6 separate regions of the Homo sapiens genome follow, and regions 1, 3, 4, 5 and 6 are each linked to region 2. Evidence: promoter capture Hi-C in 16 types of primary human blood cells and fetal thymus (Javierre and others, 2016). All regions are on one chromosome and are shown on one strand. The core of a region is centred on a gene start or on the middle of the fragment in contact, and the rest is flanking DNA. Distances in the headings are between cores, read along the strand shown.

Region 1 (2,700 bases), core at 133-2,632, 760 kb before region 2:
AATATGTCTCCACTTATATATTTTATTTGAAAATGCCCATAAGAAACCTTACTGAAAATATAGGAAAGAAGATTCACTTCGAGAAGCAAAATGGCTTTAACGCAACAAAAATCTTTTTCAGAGTGAAAAAGCAGCAACACCAACACAAAACTGATTTTATTCTTTCTACCACCTGAATCATGCTTAAAATAAAGTGCTTTCTGGCTGCTTGAATAGAACAACAATGGATTTCATGATAACTTTTCCAAAGATTTATCAAACAATATATTACCAAAAACCAATACTGCTGAGATAAGCTATACATAGAATTTAATGGCAAAAAGATAATTCATTAAAATTATATGCATCTACATATGTATACAAATACATTTCAAGCCTCTGTCTAATGAATTGATAACCACCATGTGGCATTCTAAAATCATAGTAGATACCTAGGTACTTAAACAAAAATATAATTTTATCACCTTTTCTTTTTAACTTAAGCTAAAATTGAGTATGTCAGTGATCCCATTTGATTTTTCTCTTCCATTGGACAATAGTTTCTAAATATCATTTTATACTTCTCATTTACAATGAATTTGGATTAAGTAAAATATGTACAATGCTGGCTCCTTGGTGCTTATGTGCCTCATGAATTGGTAAGTCACAAAAAGACTCTTCAACACTACCTTTGCCATACAAAGGTATCCCTACATACGTAGGGATTCCTTAAAAGAGATTAATGGGATTCTCCAGCTTCTCTAACTGATCCTGGGGAAGACAACTGTGAACCCAGCTGTCTTCCCTGGAGGACAGGCATTAGAGACCCCACAGCTATCTCCTTCCACCTATTTACATTTGTAGAATAAAGCTGACACTTTAAATTGCAAATAAACAAACGTAAATATCTATCAGATTTTATTATAGAAAGTTAGAAAGGAGTTTTTGCCCTCCAAGATTAGAGGCTTTTAGCATGCCTCAGCAACTGGGAAATAACAAGATAGTGCCTAAAGATCAATTTTGTGAGCTTTAATTCAGGAAGGAAAATGGGAATCCACTGGAATTGTGAAGGACACCCCAGATCCCAGGGAGGATAATGTGGGCAAACAGCTCCTGTGACAGTATCTGGCTACTAAAAGTGTGTGAAGCCCCAGTATGTGAAAGAGGCAGAAAACCTTCCTCTGTGACTTACCTTTCCACTGGGGATCCAAGCAACCCAGGCCAAGGGAAAGCACTTTGTTTCTCCCAAGCTCTGAATAAACTGGGGAGAGGCTTGGAGACACTGTGAGGGAAAGACACCAGAAAAAGCTGCAGGCATTTTCCCAGACCCGGGACCTAAAGCAGGATGCCATTTTAAATCCAGATGCATACACAGTCAGCCATTCTTTGTCAACCTAGCAGCCTGGCTGTGGAAGCATTTTAGTCTCTGCCAAGAGATTGGAGCACCTGCCCTGGAGTGGGGTAGGGAATTACATAGCCACAATTTGGGAAGTACCTCAGCAGTAGGCACTGGAATTGTGCTCTCTCCTATCACAAGGCTGGGGCAGGAGAGAGCTGCTACAGCTGTAGTTTCTCCTGGGTGGCAAGACTTGCAGCTAGGGCCAGCTTGGTGACCTGGAATCAGTCTGCATGTGTCCTTGCTGGGTGCCCCAGCCTGCTCCCCAGAGATCATGGTGCAGCAAGGTCTTCTCTGTTCCACCCCTAGGCAGAAATCCAGGCACTCGGAGCACCCACCTGCCTGGACCAGCAGCCTGAGCTGCCTGATCCTTCATGGACATGGACATGGTGTAGCATGGGACATAAACATGGTGTAGCAGGTCCCTCTCTGCTCCATACACAGGCAGGTCTCTCCAGGTATTCAGAGCACCCCTCGCCTGGATCAGCAGCCTGAGCTGCCCCACCTTTCCTATATATAGATTGTGGTGTAGTCGGGCCGTCTCCGCTCCATGCCCAGCAGATCTCCAGGCATTCAAAGTATCTCCTCACCTGGATTGACAACCTGAGCCACCCCACCCTTCCTGTGCAAAGATCCGGGTGCAGAGGGACCCTCTCTGCTTCATACCCAGGCAGATCTTCAAGTATTTGGAACAGCTCACCTGATTCAGCAGCCTGAGCTGATCCACCTTTCCTGTGCAGAGATCTGGGTGCAGAGGGGCCCTCTCCACCTCATACCTAGGCAGATCTCCAGGAACCTAGAGTACCCACTATCCTCATTCCCATGCAGAGGACTGGGGCTGAAGAGGTTTCTCAGCTCCACACCTAGGCATACCTTTGGGCACTTGGTGGCCACTCACTAGATGCTCCCTCAGTAGTGGTACTTATGCCTGCCATTGGAGGATCTGCAGGTGGACCTTCCCAGTCCAACTCTACTCATCTTGCCCCTCCACCACCCAGGGCTGAGCAGGGAGCTCAGACCACTGTGCACCCCATAAATCAGTGCATTGTCAGAGGCAACAGATATCTTCTTCCAGTAAACAAGGATCAAGTACATACCCAGCTGCATTGGCCACAGCCAGCTCTTACCTATAAGCAACATCTGGGTAATATCAACTGAACAAGGTGAACTGGTGTTCCAAGTGCCTGCAGATCTGCCTGGCATAAAGCAGAGAGGGTCCCTCTGCATGCAGATCTCCGCACAGGAAGGGTGGAGTGGAACTGCATAACCCAGTAAAAAACCTGCTGACAGAAGTGCATAGGGCTATAAATGCAAGGCCAGGAGGC
Region 2 (2,700 bases), core at 130-2,629:
TACTGTTCTTAAATATACACAGGATTTACAAGAAAACTAATTCTATTAAAACAGTCATAAAAAGTAAACGCGATATATATATGTGCTTCTCTGTTGCATTCAATAAATTCAGTGATGTGTTACTATAATTTTGAATAAGTATAAACAGTATTTCTATATTAACTGCAATGTGATATAAACATATTTTATGATCTCTACTGATGACAGTCACAGATACTACTGTGATTTGTTGCTTATATTTTAACTGAATATTAGTTTTTAAAATTTAGTGAAATGATATACCTTTCTTTCCATCCAAGTTCATGGGTTACCTAAATTGTATGAAACCCACTATTTAGGAAGGCTTGATCAAAATTTCATATTTTACCAGGGAAGAAGTCTTACATAGAATTATTCTGGAACATCAGTATATGTAAAGCAAGGTACTAAAGTATTCCCTATGCTTAACCATTCTTCACCCCAGGGTTAAAATCAGTTTCTAGTGTCTGGTCTTTCCACCAATGACTGAGGTGTTGACCAAATGTGCTAGATCTAGAAAACATACTTTTATTTTAGAAATGTATTATATTTTATCACCCCTAAAACCTTTCCCCATAAGGTGATTGTAAAACCGCCTCATTCTTTAAATTTCTACAACACACACGTCTTACCATGGCTAACATCTTAACAAGGCAGAATCTATTTGTGATTAGATGACACTGAAATGTAGTTCCCTACCTTCCTTCCACTCATTACATTATTTAGAAGACTTTTTAAGAAATAATTTTTTTTTAGGGAGGCAGGCACTTCGTAGAACCCCCTTCACTAAAACTTTGCACTACTGGGAAGTCTCAGCTCGCCGTAACCGACTCAGTCCGGCCTAGCCGATCCCGCAGTCCCGTGACCCGCGCGGTCCAGAGCGAGAAAAGGGAACAGCGCAGGGCTCCCCGGAGCAAGGACCCCACCACACCGCACCCCACCCCACCCCCACGCCAGGCAGGACGGCCGAGGCGGGAGGACGCTGCGGTCCAGGCGCTCGCCCTCCACCCCGGTCCCGGCCCGGGCCAGGCCAAAAAGCTCGAGAGCGCGGCATCCCCGCCTGCTCCCCTCCCATCCCCGGCGAGGAAGTCACCTGAAATGACCGGCCAGGGAGCAGCGGCAGCACCACACGGGCATGGAGCGCTGCGCGAGGGGCGCCCGAGCGCGGCCGCCGTGGCCGCCTCCGCCTCCCCCGGCGAGGCTGCCCGCTCGGGGCGCCCGCTGGCTCGGGGTCGCGGGGTCTGCCGGGCGCCCCTGCCTCGCGCCTCGCCGTTGCCGCGGCTGCCCCGGCTCTGTGGCGCCGGAGTCCGCCTCCAGATAGCGGCTTCCGCTCCTCGCCTGCAGGGAGCCAGGCGCCGGAGGCGGGTGATCTCGGGGCGCCGCGATAGGGGCGGAGCGGGGCGGGGACGCTGCGACGGCGGCTGCAGCGGCGCGCGGGCCCCTCCTCGCAGGTGCGGCTGCGGCGGGCGAAGTCTGCGATTGGTGGAGCCACGGCCCGGGCGAGGGGCCGGGCCTGATGGAGCCGAGGCTGCGCGGGCAGGGGACCGAGGTCTGCAGGCAAACTGCGCGGCTCGACCGGCGGCAATCGAGACCTAGACCTCGGTCAGCGCCCCGCCGCCCCTCTGCGTGCGACTTGGTGAGGCCGGTGGGTGCGCGTCGAGAGGGCCGAGGGACGAGCGGAAGAGAAGCTGCTGCGAACTCGGGCCACCCAGATGGCCCGGCGGAGTTCCCTGCGTAAGGCGCGGCCTCGGCCACTTCGCCGAGGACCCCGGGAAGGGTCGAGCTTCCCACGCCTGAGAACCCACCTTTGGGCATTTCCTCGCGCTGCCGGGGTGCAGACGCCGGGAGCTTCCGGGTGCCTCTCCCGCTGACCCCCGCATCACAGTTACCTGGAGGACTCACCAAACCACAGGTGCCCGGGACCCGCCCACCACGCTTCTTTTATGGAAGTCCCGCTTCCGGGAAGAGGTCATCCTCCCCTCTTCATGTCTCTCAAACACCCACAAGTGTAGGAATTACCAGCACGCCGGGTGAAAATCCAGGTGCTCATCAGGCCCGCCCCAGACCACACCGGCCAGTGTGGGGAAGGGCAGGAACCCCTGCTGCTTTTTAAGCCCCTGCGGGCGTTTGTGATGCAATAGGGAGTTAGAAAAGTACTCAATAGTGAGTGTCGTTATTCGGTTTGTCAAAAATTAAAGGTGGGGAGGACAAAAATCAGGAGAGATTGATTGCATCTACTTTTCTACGGAAATGTCTAACTCCGCTTCCAAAAAAAGCCGTAATTATTTTTGTGCTTCAAATATACGTTTATGTTTATATCTTTCAACATAATTTTGTAAAACAAATGTTAAGTTTTACTGAATGTTGTCACTGAACAAACTTGTGATGAGCAGGTATTTTAGAGTCTTGGGGTCTTAAAAGAAAATCATAGGACTCAGACTGCCCCAGAGTTATGCAATCTAAGAGTATATTAACCACTTTTAAGTATTATATGTTTTTCTCTTTTTTGAGCTTTTGTCGATTTGACACGTTCATTTCATTTGAATGTTGGTTCTGAAAATGAAGCATGTAGTTACTTTTCCGTTAACATACATAACAGCATTTTAAAGTACCTAAATTCCTTTTGGAAGGCCGAGGCGGACGGATCACCTGAGGTCAGAAGTTCCAGACCAGCCTGACCAA
Region 3 (2,730 bases), core at 62-2,561, 670 kb before region 2:
TATGTAGTGTGTATGTATGTCTATATACACTATATATAGTGTGCATATATGCATATATATACACTGTGTATATATATGTGTGTGTGTATATATATATACACACAGCACCAAAGATTTGGAGGCCTATGAGAATTTGTTACCCCAGCTACACAGCACTGAGTTTTTTGCGGTGTGTGCCCAGGCTCTTACATTACTTTAAAAGACTTTTCCAGGTGAACATTAAAAGAGACCTTTTTATTCTGTTGGGGATTTAAAATCATTGTTGTTGTGCATTTAATATGTATTTCTTGAGCACAAGCTACATTTTCAACATTCTGCTACATTTTTATTTTTGGAAAGGCCTCAAGAGACTTATCTACAACTCAGGATCAACTTTAACTGCTACCTAGTTTACTTGGTGAGTCAGTCTTGAAACCATTTGCTTTCTGATAGATGGAAATTCTAAATTAGTAGGGTCAAATATACAGGGAGTTTTTAGTAGCCCTGGTTGGTCCAGTTTGGAATCTGGTGTTTCCAGAGAAGCAGGATCCAGTGTAGGAGTTAGAGGACTCAGGATACTATATGTGAGCTAAAATAATGTGTGCAGTAGAGCTGGAAGATCACAGTGAAATTCTCACATATTAGGGAGCTCAGAGATGCAGATGGTGTGCTGGAAAATGCATTCATGAGCTGTGTGCCAGGCAGATGGGAGTCAGTCAGGGCAGCTCCACCCTTAGGCAGGATTCCCTTCCTAAGTTCAACTCATCAGCAGTAGCAGCTGCAGATTAAAAACAGACATGGCAGCTCTGTGTCTGCTAGCCCCACCCTTCTTCCCTACCCCAGAGAGGCCCTTGGGTCTATATATTGAATGATCCTTTCAAAATATCTCCTTTTGACATGAGATAAGCCTGGCAGAAAGAAGAGGGAATACTGATTAGAAGACCTTGTCTCTCGTGAGCTCAGAAGATTTCTTTATTAAGAACAAGGAGCAATCTTGGTGCATTGTCTTGGAACCAATATTTCTAGATTTTTTTTTGATATATTTTATCCAAACAGTGGAGGCTGATCAGAGGAATGTGACTGATTTTCAGAGTAGGCAAGTTAATTGTTAACCTAATACAGAATTGGCTAACCTAACCAGTGTGAGTCTGGATGGACCAGGAGGCCCTTACCCCATGGGAATCAGTTTTCTGATCAAAATAATTTTTGTGATCATTATCATTTAGCTAAAGGCAACATGAGCTAGCTTTTCATGGAAAATACTAAAAACGTAAGTAAGGCTAAGACGTGAATGATTCGTGATGGTATTTTGAAGTCAAGTTGGTAAAAACTCAAAAATTATTGCTATTCAAAAATAGTATTGCAGAAATGTCCTGGGGAACATAAACACCGAATTCATAACGTACCGTCATACAGACATTTCAGGGGAATGGTAGCAGTATGATTTAAGCAACAATGGCAATAAAGCCTCCAGGGTTCTCTTGTCCTTCCCATCAGAGATTTACACAGCAAGTCTGAGGATGTTTTTACAGGCAGTTTGGATATTTTACCAGAATGACTTTCCCTTTCATGGATTCGAAGGAAGGGACAGACACATGTGCATGCCATTTGTGCAGTTATTGAAGTTAAATATTCTCTTTAGGAGGATGCAGCATTCATTAAATATCACGATATGTGAACTATGTTCCAAGCAGTGGACTAACTGAACATCTGCTTATTCTGTTTTTCAATCATTAAATGGAAAGAGGGTGTGTAGGGAATAGGGCAGTGTGAAGATGGCACTAAGAGGGAGATACTCGGAACACAGGGCAAAATGGAAACAGCTTCCTCATGTTTGGGCAAATTCCAGTATGCTTAGGATAGGAAATTTAGAAACCAGAAGTATAGCATGGCTGGGAAATTAGATATCAGAGTTTGTTTTAAGTCTGTTAACACAGATATAAGTGGAATTTAATATTTAAACTTGTGCTTATATTTACTAAACCAAGTTAAGAACATAATGTGTTTATTTTTTTGAAAATGAGAATTACCTTTATTGATTAAGGCAGTTTTATTGTGAGCAACTACTGTTATCTCCCCAAACTCTGTTCACTCGCTCCTTGGCTGAGTGGAAATGCTTTTTCAGAAGTTGAATTCATGCAGCCTTCAATTTTCTCAATTCTTTGGAGAGGTCCAAGTGGCAGATTGTTTTAGGGAAGGCAACAGTTGGTTGACAGGCAGTGGGTCACTGAAAGTCAGCCGTAAGGGACATATCACTCAGCCTCTTGAGGTCCACCCTCACTGGGTCCTGCAGCCCTGGTGTCCTTAAAGCACCAAGCACTGTGGCAGCAGGATGCCTCTTAAATCCATCCCTCTTCAGCTCATGCCCCACTTTAAAGCAAAAAGCAATATATCCCTTGTCCTCACTGTGGAATTGACCTTTAATGTAACAATTTGTTCTAAATTTAGACTTCACCAACTTTACACTGGAGACAGAGATTGGATTATAATAGCAACTATTTAACTTTTGTTAATCTGTGGCATTCAAAAAGAGAGGTTGCCTCCCTTGAGCAATTTGCCATCTAAAAGGAAGAAGGAAAATTTTAATGGGAAAGGCATTTTGACTTTTATACTCAAAAATAATTTTTAAGTGAATAACATTTAATGTGATGATGACAATGACAAAGAGGAGGAGGAGGAGGTGGTGGAGGAGGAGGAGGCGGAGGAGGTGGTGGCACTGATAGGCATTCTTGCTATGAGCCAGATACTATA
Region 4 (2,700 bases), core at 159-2,658, 690 kb before region 2:
TAAACAAATCTTTATTTCTCTCTTCCCTGTACCCTGGTAATCACTATACTAACTCTGTCTCTGTGAATTTGCCTATTCTAAGTACCTCATGTAAATGGAATCATACAATATTTGTCCTTTTGTGTCTAGCTTACTAAGATTTTTTTTGGTAGCAAAGGCTGAGTGAATCCGGACTGGTTAGTCATTGGTTGCCGGGCTTTCTGTACTGCATGGGTCCCAATCCATAAACTTAAATTCTATCATCTTCGTGATAATATCTACTAATTACAGGCATAATGTTCCTAGGAGAAAAGCAGTCTTTATGGCACACACTTTAGGTGTCCAAATATATTTCAACAACATTACAGGAGCAGAACTTTTTTTTAAGAAGACTGTATAAAATCTGAAAACACTTCTGAAAGGTAGCTTTGAAAAATTCTTGGGTACTTTAATTGCAGGTGAGGATAAAAAATTTCAGCCTGTGGATAGCACCCTTTTATTTATCAGCCTCTTGATTCCTCTCCCAAAGTGACTGTATATTGTGCAGTTGGTAAGCAATTAAATAGTTGGCAACACGGTATAAATATTTAAAATTTATTAAAAACTACCAAGGCCTAAATCAAGAGATGTGATTAATTATTCAGGAAAAGTTCTATTTAAAAAAAAAAATGTGCTCACAGATGTGTAGTAATTACACAATCTGTTTCTTTTTATCATGTATATGAGCTAAATGTAATGTTTCCCTGCCTTGAAAGTCTGCATTCCCTCAGTTCTCCATAATGATGCCAATTCATTCATGGAAACAAAGCAAGAGTCATTAAGCTTATAACCATCAGATACCAAGGAAGTTGTTTCTGTAGCAATGAATCAGCCACGTGAAATCTCTTAAGATTTTTACCTCTTTACTCCAGTGACTTATCAATGCAAATAGGCCTCTGTCCATCAACTGGTATGTTTTAAACCTACAACTTAAAAATCAGTTTCTAGTTGGTTCAGCTCCTTCACACTTGGCCTTTCTGATATCCATGGCACAGATTATGATAACTGTTACTACAACCAACAAATGCCACTTCTAACTGCAATTTTTGCTTTCTTTATATAATCTTGGGTGAGCAGTTTATTGTCTCCAAACCTTGGTTGATTCATCTGTAAGACAGGAGGAGAAAGATAGCTTGTGAGAATGAGTAGCACAGTATGTGTACAGGTAAATACTAGATTTAGGAAAGAAATACGTGAACATGTACGTTGTACTTTTCCAGCCTTCTTCCTCCTGGAAACTGTTTCTCTTTTGTCTCCTAGTAACTATATTGTAGCTGCTGGCTCCCATATTTGAGAACTGAAGTTTCCACCTCATTTACCCGTCCACTCTCAAGGCTTTTTCAACCTTGGGCACTCTTCCTGGCATAAGCAAAGACTGCCGCTAGAAACCACTACATTTGGTAATTTAATTACTTTTATCTTATCCATCCATCCCCTTGGCCCTCAGGACTCTGCTCATTTGCAGAGCAAGTTTGACAGCCTCCTATCTGTACCTTTTAATCTAAAAAAAAATGGCATTGATTCAGACAGACATCTGAAAGGACACCGTGATCACCAAGGGAGACAAAAATTCTGTAAGAACAAGAGCAAAAAAAAGTGTTTATAATTTACATTAACCCTGGGCTCTTTATCAGAAAAGGCAATGTTTTGTTTCACATATCCTTTTACTTCTTTGAACAATTATGCTGGTTTATTGAGTACTTACAGTAGCCCAGACACCGTGCTAAGCACCTCACATTATATTATTTAATGTAATACACCCAGGAATCCTAGGAGGTGTAGGTGCTGCTATAACCCATTTTATAAATAAAGAATCAAAGACTTGGGTTAGGTAACTTGCCTAACATCACACAGTAAGTGGCAGAGCTGGATCCAAACCGGACAGACCTGACCCATGGTCTGGCCACTACAGCAGAATATTCAGTGGTATGTTTAAAGGCAGTTACTCAATAAGGGAAAGATAATACTGAACTATTTATTTTATTTAGGAAGCTTATGGAGAGGTTTAAATGATGGTCCTTTTTACTACACATTTTTTTCTTCTTTCCGTCTTTATTTTTCTTTTATTGAGGCCTTTAGTGTTATTTTTTAAATATTAAATCTATCTATTCTTCTCTGTTCCTTGCAGTAAGAAACATAAGGCTTCGAGAAGGCCATACAACTGTACATGTTTGAAATTCCTTGTCCAGGATGTGGTGACATAATACACTGAATCCATTCAAGAGTCAATGGTGATCTCAGTGATGCTTGTGGTTGGAATATTTTTTGTAATGAAAATAGTTAGAATCTGTTGATTAAGTACCTGTTAAGGTGTGCCTTTAAATTAAGAATTAGGAATGCTGCATGCATAATATTATATTTCTTCAAATCAGAAATAAAATATCCCATATGTAGAACTTGTCTATATGAAAAAAAAATCAGGAATCACTTATTAAAATATTTCATGTGGTTTCCAGAGTGGTCCACAAGATTGCCTCTTGGGAGGGTTCTATTTCCTCTATTAGTTTCTGGTTTTGTTTTTTTTTTTTTTTCTTTTCTCATTGTTTTTTATTTTCTATTTTTGTATATATTTTAAAATATACATAAATCTTTTATAATGTGCATAATAGTAATTTATACTTGAAATTATGTACTATTACTATGATGTATGTATCAGGTACAGCTCAAAAACAATTTGTTGAT
Region 5 (2,700 bases), core at 161-2,660, 570 kb before region 2:
GGTGCAGTTTTTCACTTTGAAAAAAAAATTAAACATTGTACCTTCAAAATAGATTTTTAAGGCTTTTAAAAACCCAAATAGCTTATTTATTTCCAAAAATGAAATTGCAAACATCTGGAAGCAAGATGCAAACTCTTGCCCTTGGAGATTATTTCTTATTTTAAGATTTATCCTCCTGTGTTGCCATGACTACTGACCATGAACTGAAATTGCTGTGTAATACATTCTAACTCCCATAGTGATTATACTGAAACCAGTGGTAAGTTTCTAATAATTAGAGGAGACAACTTCAAAGGTGGACTTGACAGAATCTTCATACATTATGTTAAAATCTTCTCCAGGGTTTTGGGCTATTGGTTGTTTATTCAAATGTGGCATTAGTATGGACAGGGTAATTAAATATGGAGCAAGAATTTCTGCCAAATATAAATTCTTTTGTCACATTCTAATGTGTCAAGTCATGTCAAAAAGGAGAAAAAGAGACAACCCAATTCAATGTTAGTTGGATGTGCAAGAGAGTGGTTGTGTATTTGGTAAACAAATGCTCATCCTCTGAGAGCTCCTAAAATAGTAATTTCTACTCTGAGGCATATAAATTCTCAGTTGGAGAGAAAGAAATAATGTTTGGTGTTCCAGAAAATAAAATGAACCCACTTAGGCATACTGACACCTATAATACTTAATAATTTACTCTTTCATTAGCACTAGGGTGATTTACATTATTTTTATATAAGATTACCAAGCTTGTGAATCATGTAGGAGAAAGTTATTTGTGCTTTAATAGCATATGGTTTCACATAACTGCATTCTTCCTGAAGGCAGATAGATGGCTACCTTTAGCTAGTATATTTCAGACTGACCAGGAAAAGGGAAAGACAGAGTGAGATATTGTTGAGATCGTATCTCACAACTGCCCTAATCTATGGGCAAGAGTGATGTATTTGTTTTCCACTGGGGCTAAGAACCATGCATTTTCCAAAATCAGACGTATCTTTTGCTTCCAGAAATGTTGCATTCTCATCGCAGTATTTTAACCTAAAAGTAAGCACTAGGAGTATTATTCTAATTGTGCTTCTGCATTGAGTTAGATGATGGGTGCGCTATCAAGAACAGGAGGGAATAAGCCGCTTCCCTCATGCTGATGGTGCTTCCACAGTAGGAGTGGATGAGATAAATCGCAAAAGGAAAGAGAGAGAAGGAAGGAAGGGAGGGAGGGACGGAGGGAAGGAAAGAAGGAAGGAAGGAGGGAAGGAAAGAAGGAAGGAAGGAAGGAGTTGGGAGAAAGGAAGGATGGGAGAAAGGAAGGGAGGGAGGGTGGATGAGAAAACGAGTTGATAAGTGTCACGAAGGAAAGAAGACAGGATGCTGAGGTACAGAATGATGGGTGGCAGTGGAAGGTAGGAGAGACAGCTACTGTAGATAGGGAGGTCAGGAAAAGTCCATGTGAAGAAGTGACATTTCAGAGGGATCCAAAGGGCTTATATGCTATAGGCAGACTGTTGGAAGTGAAAGAATGAGAAGTTTGAAGTTTAAATCCTGCATCTTTTATTTAAACTCTTATTAATTCAATGAATATTACACCGGGTATCTGCTACCTGTAAGTCACTGTGTTGTGTGCAGGAGGGTCCCTCATAGGACAAAACAGACATGGCTCCTCATTTATGGCACTTACAGTGTCATAGGGAAGAGAGCTGTTAACCAAGGAGTTTCCACTGTGAGGTATGGCACTGTAAAGTTGACTACATCATTGTAGAATAAAGTGAATCACAGGAAGTGTGGAATACAAGATTCCAGAGAGATGAAACTGATGTTTTGTCAGCCTCAGGACACATAAGCTCCTCCGGGTCCCAGGAGATGTGAGAAGAGACCTTGAAAAGGACCTTGAAAAGGGCTTTTTGTGCATAGACTAGAGTTCTATTTAAGGAACCTAAAACAAAGGAGGAACAGAGCCCTCTTTTCCTCTTCTCACCTGCTCCCCAAATCTCTACTCTTTGCACCTCACATTTGATGTGTGTGTGTGTGTGTGTGTGTATGCGCACAGGAGCACCATACACACATCCTGGGAAGAGAAGCTTTTGGTTCACTCCTTTTGCAAACAAGTGTGAAGAGCACTGCACCTTGTCACCAGCTACATATAAAAGAGAAAATCTAAAGAAATAGAGCACAGGATACCCTACATGCACTCTGAACTTAACTGATTGACTTGCTCATCAGAATGAAAGCACTGTTCCCAAAACTGGAGTTAAATAAAATGTCCTTGTCCTTGACCTTGATCTTTCCTTATGGAATAAGTGAGTAGAAACGCATATGCTCTCCTGGCCAAAGACAACGATGATTGAACCTCTTTACTCAGATTATGACCAAAAGCAACACATACTGTCTATCCTCTGTGGATCGTGCTCTCCTGAGCACTGAATCATCCCTGTGGTGTTGTAGGCCTCCACACTCCCATGTCTCTGTCTTAGAAAAATAGCCTCTGAGGATCTCTGCTCAATGAGAAAATAAGAGAACTGAGATCTAAAAAATATTGCCACAGTTATATTGATTCTTTTATCAATGATTGACAAGAAATATTTTTGTTAAATTGAAATAGCTAATTCATAGGTTTCTATAAGTGATATATAATATCTCCCAGTCAATTTGAGTCAATATTTTATGATAAAATTAGAATCCTTATTTAGTTTGCAAGACCTAGGACAT
Region 6 (2,700 bases), core at 135-2,634, 660 kb after region 2:
ATTGGGACTTACAGCTTTGGCTATAATTGAAGACAAGTCATATGTTGACTCTGTTCAGAGGAGATGGTATACGAAGAGCTTCAGCAGCACCAGGCAAGAGTTCTCTGTGGGTAAACCTCAATATCCTCAGTAACAGATATCAGAAGCCTCAATGCAGACAACAGCAAGCACCAGTATCACTAACATGTTTGTCAGGCAGTGGAACCTTAACCATTGTAGATCCTGGCATCAGTAGTGGGGTATCAGATTCACCACAGAGAGCTGAAATGGGATCATGAGAGAAGGAGATCTGAGGGAACTTGTATGTAAAGTAGATGTGAGACATCTGGAGACTCTCAAAACTATTTGGGAGGAATTTGAGTGAAGCTGAGATTCTTCTAGTTCAGGGAAGCATTCAACTGGAGAAATATTAGTTTCAGTTTTGACCCTATTTTGACTTTCAGGTTACTGTGATCTTAAAAGTGTAAATTACATTTATATAATATAATAAGGCATTGTAGGGCCCTGGAAGTTATTTAATACAGAGGGGAACCTTGTTTGTCTTACTCTTAGGCATGTCCTCATAAGGCTAATTGTCCTCTGTAATCCTAGCTGTTTATATAAGTCCTTAATAAATATATATTACCCTCAATTTTTGATATAGTTGATTCAAATGTCCCATGACAGTTAAGTCTAATGTTCAAGAAGGGCACTATATGCAAAGTGAAATTATAAGGTAGATATAGTGACTGAACTTCATTGGTTTTTGCTCCAAAATAGATCTGTTAGCTGTATTCTATTAATGTATTCCTGTGCAATATCTCGATGCCTTCAAGGGGCACCAGGACCTTATAAGAAGTATATGTATATATTTATAAGTAAAATATGTTGAGTGAGAAGCAACTACATCTGCTTAGGACTGCTGAGTGGGACTAGCCAACAAAGTGAGATAGTGAAAGGTCTACTTGGAATAGCTCGGTGAATTCTACTATCACTTACCAAATTTTCAAACCAAAAACCCAGCAGTTTGTTTTAGCTTTTTTACACTCCCTGGCTCCACACCATCTAATCAGATACAAGCCTTACCAATTCTAAATTCTTAAATTTCCAGTTTCTTTGTTCCTTTCCATCAACACTGCTGCCCCTAGTTCAAGTATCCATAACTCTTTCCCCTGAGCAGGTGCTTCTTTGCTGTTCTTCCTGGCTCCAGGCTTGTCTCTCTAAGCCTGCCCTTCCACATGCTATCAAACTAAGGTGCAAACCTCATTTCCTTGCTCAAATTTCTTTAATGGTTCCTTCTTCATCTGGGTCCTCCTTATCTTCCTTCACTTCCTTCTATAGTCAAATCAAGACCCACACAGTGGGAGGAATAACCCCAGCTCTCAGCAATGCAGAAAAAAATAAAAAATAAAAAAAAAACTGGCCAGCAACCTAGCTTAAAGGATCTTCACATTCTGCGGCAACGACTCTGTGGACCGACCAAGGAAGGAGAAGGGGCAGGAACCAGTAAAGTACTTCCCTGGTGGTCAAATTCTAGAGGGCTAAATGTGTGTGTGCATGAGTGACCACAAACAACCCTGCTTGCGGTGTTGTTCTTGTGGATGGTGACAAGTCCTACTGCTGGACAGAGTGAGTGGGTCCTCTCTGCGGTTCCATAGCTACCTCATATGGCTTAGGGTGGATCCTGCCATGGGATTTATACTGGCACACCAACACTAAGAGGGGCCTAATTCTCCCTTGAGGGAGCAGCCAGAGAGGACGACATGAGTGGGAAGTGTGCAAGGGACCTTCAGAGGGGGAAAAGGAAGAAACAGGTCAGCCTTCCAGGGCAGCAAGGCAAGACACCCCCTGGTGTGAGAGTTTGAGCCTTCTGGGACAGACAAGGCAAGACATCCCTGGTGTGAGGGGTTGAGCCTTCCACTAATTTCAAAGGTCGAACCTCACACAAACCCCCTCTTTCCTTTCTTCTCAGGGGAGGAAAGGATAGCTCCACTCCCACTGGTCCCTCCCCTAGGGGAAGGGGAAGGGGAAGGAGAGGGGAGAACAGCAGCACATGTGGCTGGCAGAGAGAGAGGAAAGAGAGAGAGAGAAAGAGAGAGACAGAAAGAGACAGAGAGACAAAGAGGGAGTCAAAGAGAGAGAGAGGCAGAAAGAGAGAAGAAGAGACAGAGAGACAAAGAGGGAGTCAGAGAGAGAGAAAGAGAGAGACAGAAAGTCAAAGGAGAAAGAAAGAGAGAAAGACAGAGATAGAAGTATTAGGGAAAACAAACAGTGTACTCTATTCCTTTAAAAGCCAGGGTAAATTTAAAACCTATAATTGATAATTGAAGGTCTTCTCCATGACCCTATAACACTCCAATACCACCTTGTTGTCAGTGTGAACAAGGGCATAACCTGAGAGCACTGAGGCCACTGATAACCCATAGCCTTCCTAATCAAAAATCCTTAACCCAGTAACCCGTGGATGGCCCAAGTACATTCAATCTGTAGCGACAACTGCTTTGCTAACAGAAGAAAGTAGAAAAATAACTTTTAGAGGAAACCTCATTGTGAGCACACTGCACCAGTTCAGAACTATCCTAAGTCAAAAAAAAAAAAAGGGAAAAGGTAGCTTACTCACTCAAAAATCTTAAAGTATGGGGCTATTCTGTTAGAAAAAGATGATTTAACATTAACCACTGATAATTCCCTTAACCCAGCGGGCTTCCTAACTGGGAATCT

Evidence for each region. Contacts are between HindIII fragments. The CHiCAGO score rates a contact against its expected background, and 5 or more counts as called.
Region 1: a contact is called between a fragment that was not itself captured here and the fragment with the promoter of OSGIN2 in region 2, in 4 of 17 cell types (total B cells, non-activated CD4 T cells, total CD8 T cells and 1 more). The highest score is 6.0, in total B cells.
Region 3: a fragment that was not itself captured here is called in contact with the fragment with the promoter of OSGIN2 in region 2 in 10 of 17 cell types (non-activated CD4 T cells, total CD4 T cells, activated CD4 T cells and 7 more); the score reaches 12.3 in non-activated CD4 T cells.
Region 4: a fragment that was not itself captured here is called in contact with the fragment with the promoter of OSGIN2 in region 2 in 4 of 17 cell types (activated CD4 T cells, non-activated CD4 T cells, naive CD4 T cells and 1 more); the score reaches 7.4 in activated CD4 T cells.
Region 5: a contact is called between a fragment that was not itself captured here and the fragment with the promoter of OSGIN2 in region 2, in 3 of 17 cell types (naive CD8 T cells, erythroblasts and total CD8 T cells). The highest score is 7.2, in naive CD8 T cells.
Region 6: a fragment that was not itself captured here is called in contact with the fragment with the promoter of OSGIN2 in region 2 in 1 of 17 cell types (naive CD4 T cells); the score reaches 6.7 in naive CD4 T cells.

The regions. Positions count from the first base shown.
Region 1 is chr8:90,665,403-90,668,102 of GRCh38, reverse strand. No RefSeq gene overlaps it. Among named protein-coding and RNA genes, the nearest start is that of TMEM64, 21 kb to the right of the region's middle. RefSeq lists an enhancer at 1,196-1,696. The HindIII fragment of the contact is 3,241 bases long and covers 1-2,700 here.
Region 2 is chr8:89,901,249-89,903,948 of GRCh38, reverse strand. It overlaps OSGIN2 (oxidative stress induced growth inhibitor family member 2), which reads right to left and starts at 1,379. Exons shown (of 6, transcript NM_001126111.3): 1 at 1,112-1,379. The coding sequence starts at 1,155. It overlaps LOC124901974 (a long non-coding RNA gene), which reads left to right and starts at 1,543. Exons shown (of 2, transcript XR_007061001.1): 1 at 1,543-1,930. RefSeq lists silencers at 808-1,257, 1,288-1,627, 1,377-1,675 and an enhancer at 1,969-2,700. The HindIII fragment of the contact is 4,461 bases long and covers 1-2,700 here.
Region 3 is chr8:90,573,738-90,576,467 of GRCh38, reverse strand. No RefSeq gene overlaps it. Among named protein-coding and RNA genes, the nearest start is that of LINC01030, 31 kb to the left of the region's middle. The HindIII fragment of the contact is 7,285 bases long and covers 1-2,730 here.
Region 4 is chr8:90,592,550-90,595,249 of GRCh38, reverse strand. It overlaps LINC01030 (long intergenic non-protein coding RNA 1030), which reads left to right. Exons shown (of 3, transcript NR_104062.1): 2 at 1,279-1,418; 3 at 2,147-2,475. Among named protein-coding and RNA genes, the nearest start is that of LINC01030, 12 kb to the left of the region's middle. The HindIII fragment of the contact is 1,209 bases long and covers 804-2,012 here.
Region 5 is chr8:90,471,064-90,473,763 of GRCh38, reverse strand. All of the region lies in intron 3 of LOC124901975 (a long non-coding RNA gene), which reads left to right. Among named protein-coding and RNA genes, the nearest start is that of LINC01030, 130 kb to the left of the region's middle. The HindIII fragment of the contact is 1,329 bases long and covers 746-2,074 here.
Region 6 is chr8:89,239,014-89,241,713 of GRCh38, reverse strand. No RefSeq gene overlaps it. Among named protein-coding and RNA genes, the nearest start is that of PARAIL, 520 kb to the left of the region's middle. The HindIII fragment of the contact is 4,416 bases long and covers 1-2,700 here.